2 separate regions of the Homo sapiens genome follow, and region 1 is linked to region 2. Evidence: promoter capture Hi-C in human tissues and cell types (Jung and others, 2019). All regions are on one chromosome and are shown on one strand. Each heading gives the region's core, a stretch centred on a gene start or on the middle of the fragment in contact. The rest is flanking DNA. Distances are from core to core; before and after follow the strand shown. Region 1 overlaps LINC01301 (long intergenic non-protein coding RNA 1301). Region 2 holds the start of CHD7 (chromodomain helicase DNA binding protein 7).

Evidence for each region. Contacts are between HindIII fragments. The study calls those that stand out against the background at their distance.
Region 1: a contact is called between a fragment that was not itself captured here and the fragment with the promoter of CHD7 in region 2, in 1 of the 25 tissues and cell types used here (dorsolateral prefrontal cortex).

The regions. Positions count from the first base shown.
Region 1 is chr8:60,405,387-60,408,086 of GRCh38, forward strand. The region is part of intron 2 of LINC01301 (long intergenic non-protein coding RNA 1301); the gene reads right to left. Among named protein-coding and RNA genes, the nearest start is that of LINC01301, 7.1 kb to the right of the region's middle. The HindIII fragment of the contact is 9,187 bases long and covers 1-2,700 here.
Region 2 is chr8:60,677,291-60,679,990 of GRCh38, forward strand. CHD7 (chromodomain helicase DNA binding protein 7) reads left to right here and starts at 1,450. Exons shown (of 38, transcript NM_017780.4): 1 at 1,450-1,792. RefSeq lists silencers at 998-1,437, 1,798-1,897, 2,558-2,700. The HindIII fragment of the contact is 11,242 bases long and covers 1-2,700 here.

The DNA of each region.
Region 1 (2,700 bases), core at 86-2,585, 270 kb before region 2:
TCTGCACAGGTGACCCTGTGTCCCTGCTGGGGCGCCAGACTGCATCCTTGGCAAAGCACAGAGCCACTGGGCCAGTCATCCTAGGAGTACATCAGCCTTTGGGGACTTAGTCATGGGGAAAACGGTCTCTGCATTCATGGTACTGTAATTTCAACTCTTAAATATATTCATTTGTTTTTAAATTGACTTTTAAATGCAGTATCATATATTTACTGAAAAGTGCACAAATGCTCAATGAGCACCTCACTGAATTTATACAACATGAATACACCCATGGAATCAATAACCAGGCAAGAAATCAAGCACTGCCAACACCCAAGGAGGCCCCCATCAGCCTCTTCCCCATCTCTAATATGATGATAAAACCTGACTATAAACATTAACAAAGGAATGGGATGTAAATAGACTCTGGAACTCTAGAAGAGATTAGAAAATCTTATTTGAAACTATCTTCTGAAATTGAGATTCCTGGGAACACTGGCAGACGTTGCTATCATTAGAATTCTCACCCAGCTAGCAGAATAAAGGGTGTAGTTACCCTGAAAAATTCCACAGGCACTATCTCCAGAGATGGCTGTATAGCACCTGTGCCCTTTCTTCCGATAGGCAGATACTCCCAGTAGAGGAAACACACGTGACACGTGTTCCCACCCAAGGACACCATGAGAAGCTCTGCAGAGCAGGTCAGTGCTGACTCCACCCTGGGCCTCTGAGTCAGATGTCAGGCCTGGCCATGTAAATTTCAAAAACTTCCCAAAGAGATTCTGAAGTGCATCCCTGGGTGAGAACAACTCTCTCAAAGTGTTATTCATTTTGTTATTTCATTACACACTTTCCAAGCCCATTCCCTCTGACAACAAAAGAATGAAACCCAGCAAAGGTGCAGGAAGGGGGTCAGGTGAGTTTCTTCTCCCCCCTTCCTTACTTCATCTGGGCTGATTTTGCCTAATCAAAATCGCTCCAATCACCCACAGAACTGGTCAAAATCCCAACCTCCAGAGATCAGCTCCTTTTTGTATGTAACTCCAGGCCTTTGCCTGCATCTAAAATGCTCTCTTCCTCTTCTCCACATAGCAAACTCCTACATGTTCTGCAAAATCCAGGCTAATTGTCTCCACTTTGTGTTTCCTGACTTAGTCCTTCTGTGCGCCCTAATATCCCATTAAAGGCCTCTTTACAGTTATCAATGGCTTTTTTTTTTTTTTTTTTTTTTTGAGACGGAGTCTCACTCTGTCACCCAGGCTGGAGTGCAGTGGCGCGATCTCGGCTCACTGCAACCTCCTCAGCCTCCCGAGTAGCTGGAATTACAGGCTGGTGCCACCACGCCTGGCTAATTTTTGTATTTTTAGTGGAGACAGGGTTTCACCATGTTGGTCAGGCTGGTCTCAAACACCTGACCTCGTGATCCACCTGTCTTGGCCTCCCAAAGTGGTGGGATTACAGGCATGAGCCACTGCGCCCAGCCATCAATGGCCTCTTCACAATTCTTGGCATATCACATTGTAATGACCTTTTGTGCTGCCTGTACCACCAAATAGACTGAGATTTTCCTCTTTCCACCTCTGCATTCTCATGGCCTAGAATGAACCCTGGAATATGCTAAATAAATAAATGATGGATGTATGCATGGATGGATGGATACTTAGAAGTGCTTTGTAAAGTGCAAACCATTCCATTTCCATCCACTCTATAACTCTCACACATAAACGGATATCTGGAACTCAAACATCCCTTTTTCCCTAGACTCCATCCTTCTCACCCTCCAAGTAGAGACCCAATTCTTTTTCATTTCAACAGGAACTAGAAACTCTACACCTTCACTATGTATTATAATTGTCAGCAAAATTTTATCTTTCTTTTCAGCATCATTATTCTCTGAGACTTACTTCCAAAGTCTAGCATTACCATGGGCCTTTTGCCTCTCTCTTTTACCCTAAAAAGCAAACATGGAGCAAATAGGCCTCTTGGGTTGGGGGTTGGAGGGGGTGGGGTTCCACCCAGGGAACAATGGCATCAAGGCCAACCCAAGCATGCATTGTGGCTCAGCAGGTGGTTCAGTGGCTACTGCGTGTATATACACAGCAGTGGATTTCTTGGGAAGACTAAGCTACAGCCAGCCCCTTAGGTGACAGTGAGCTGAGAGTTCTACACATAGAGCTGCCCCACAGTGGCTGGTGGTTTCCTTTATGGAGGAAATGTTTTGGAATCCCAGTCCTAGCATGTGATGGTTTTCCTACATTCCAAGAGCAGCCATGTGGCAGAGGCATGCTCAGAATAAGGCATTTGAGCAAAAATGGAGTAAAAACTGTAAAGTTAGAGGGAGAGGGAATTGAACAGCTGGAGATACGGGATATTAACTAAGATGTGTCTTAAAGTGATATGAATGAGGGTGTTCCTTACCATGGGAAACCAGTGTGGGAAGGTTTAAACAGCCATGGTGGCTCACACCTGTAATCCCAGCACTTTGGGAGGCCGAGGCAGGTGGATCACTTGAGGTCAGGAGCTCAAGAGCAGCATGGCCAACATGGCAAAACCCTGTCTCTACTAAAAACAAAAAATTAGCTGGGCATGCTGGTGGGTGCCTGTAATCACAGCTTCTTGGGAGGCTGAGGCAGGAGAATCACTTGAACCCAGGAGGAGGAGGGTGCAGTGAACCAAAATCGTGCCACTGCACTCCAGCCCAGGCGACAGAGACTCTGT
Region 2 (2,700 bases), core at 200-2,699:
CATGATGAAAGCAAGCTAAAAGCAGTGCATTTAACAAACCACAATATAATGTGATATATTTATAGAATTATTACTAAAATCAGAAAATCAATGTCTTAGTGATTAAGTCTAGGATAATCAAACTTATTGAATAGTTGCAGTAGTTACTTAATGAGATAGTTTTGATTAATCTTTTGTCCAAATAACAATATTGTGATTACAGGCTTAGCACTACAGGTAGTGTAACCATCAGTGAGTGAGATTAGTACATTTTACATAGTTTTGCTATTTTCTCAGTTTATTTTGGAGTCCAGTAATAACCAGTCAGTCTGTACCTGCCATAGGGCAATCTTTGGTTGATATGAGTTCCTTTCCTGATTTTAAAATAAGTGCAATCTTTAACCTAATAAAATTATCTTAAAGTTTACAATTGATGGTTTAAACACATTATAATTGCTCCGTATTTTGCAGATAGAAGAGGCTTAATCCATGTTTGTAGATCTATTTCCTAAAATAAAAATTAGTAAAAAAAAGTTTTTTTTCTTCAGGTTTAACATTCATTTTGTACCGGGAAGAGAAATGGAATAAGAGGCTCGGATTTTTAAGACTATGCAATCAGATACAAGTGCCATTTTGGCCAAAGAATGAGTAAAACATTCTAGTCCCGACACGTTTAATAATGGGCATACATCCTATTTCTTTGTTTCATAATCATTGAGCTCTCTGCCTTCTCTCTCTTTTTTGGTATGGTAACAAATTCGACAAAATCAATGCCATCTAGTTAAACTTTTTGATTAAGTAGTGGATCCGGTGTCCTATCCACGAAGAGGTGGGAAAAGCGATGTGGAGAAGCAGGCACGAACCCATCTGGAATGGAACATGTCCCTTCCGAATAATTTCATGTGGGAAAATAATTTCAAGTTGAAGGATAATTACTGCAGAGACTGCCAGTCACCCCCGGCCGCCGCCGGCCGCGCAGCGTCGGAAACCCTTCGCGGCAGCCAGGAGGGTCGCAGCCCTCCCGGAGCCCCGCTTCCTGCCCCGGGGCGGCGCACCCGGCTCCGGGAAGGTGCCGCGCGGGAGACGTGGCAGCAGCCCCTCCAGTCCGCGCCCGGGCGCAGCGGCCGAGCGCTCCGTGCAGCCGGGCAAGGAAGACTCCGCGGCAGCAGCGCACCGGCCGGCGGGGAGACCCGCCTGAAGCGCCGGCGCCCGCCAGGGGACGGGAAGTGGCGCCCGGCCCGCCCTTGCGGCCCGCGGCCCGCGGCCCAGCAGCTCCGCGCCGCCCCTTTTCTCTCGGCCTCTCCCTCGGCCTCCGCCACCCCGGCCGAATTCTTGCATAAATTATGCCAGGCGCGCCTGACGTCAGGTGGCGGCGCGCGGGCGCGGGCGCGGGCGCGGCGCGGCCCGGAGGGAGCTGGCGGCGGGCGCGCGCGGCCCCGCGGCTTCGGGTGCGCGCGGCGTGCCGGACGCGCGCAGGCGCTGGCGTGCTGGGGCCGCGGCGGCGGCGGCGGCGGCGGCGGCAGCGGCGGCGGCGGCGGCGGCGCGGGGGTTGAGTCGTGGTGGTGCGGACGCGCTCGTGCTCGGGAACTATCGGATTAAACTTGAATCGAGTGAAATTACACAAAGGAGCGCCGCGGAGGAGGCGGCCCGGGGACCCGGACACCCTGAAACTCACCAGAGACCCGTTCGCCCCCGGCCAACTCCGTGCCCGTGGATTCAGCCCCCTGGCCGCAGCTGCCGAGCCAACTCCGGAGCCCGCTCTGCGTTTTGTTTTCCCCTCGGCACTAGGCAGCGGAGGAGCCCGACCGACCCGGTGAGCGCGAGAGTTCGCCCGGCGCCCCCGGGAGGGGCGGCGGCGGCGGCGGCGGCAGGAAATCGCTCCGGGCCGGGGCCGGGGCCGCGCTAGGAGTTGGGAGCGAGGAGTTGGGCGTGTGCGGGGCGAGGGGCGAGGGGCGAGGGCGGGAGGGGGCCGGGGCCAGCGCAGGAGCGCAGCGCCGCCCGCGTAGTGTCGCCGGCGTCGCCGCCCGCGGGGCCCGAACCCGCGCCCCGAGCGCCGCCCGGCGCCCCAACTTTTGCCTGCGTCCGCCGGGCCGGCGGCGGCGGGGGCGCGCGGTGCGGCCGAGGGTCACTTCCTCGCATGTAAATGGCTTTTTGTTGTGCTGCCGGCGTGGGGGGGGGGTACGGGGGACAGGAGGGAGCGTGTCTGCGCGCGGGGGAGCGCGAGCGCGTTTCCTCCCGCCGGCGCCGAGCACGAGTTGCCGGCTCCATTCGAGAGAAAAAGGAAGGAGGAAAAGTTGGGCTCCAACTCAAGTGCGAGCGGGCGATGGGCGCGCGGGCGCGGGGCGGCTGAGCAGCGGCGGCGGCGGCTCGGGGACGGCGGCGACCCCCGCCTCCCGCCCCCGCCCCCCGCTCCGGACCGACCACGCCGCGCTCGCCGGGAGCTGCGGCCGCACCGGCGCGAACAAAGTGCGTTCCTCCCGGCGCGGCGGCGCCAGCCCGCGCGGGGACCGCCACCGAGCGAGGTGGGTCGGCGGCGGGGAAAGTGCGCGGGGCGCCGCGTGGGGCGGGGGCAGCGCGAACACGCGGCGCGGGAGGCGTCCCGAGCTCAGCCAGTGCCGGTCGCGGGCGCGGAGTTGCGAGCCCGGAGTTGGGGGCTCCTGGGGCTCCCCGGCGGCTCCCAAGTGCGCTAGGAGGAGAAGAAAGGGAGCGGGGCCGGGGCGA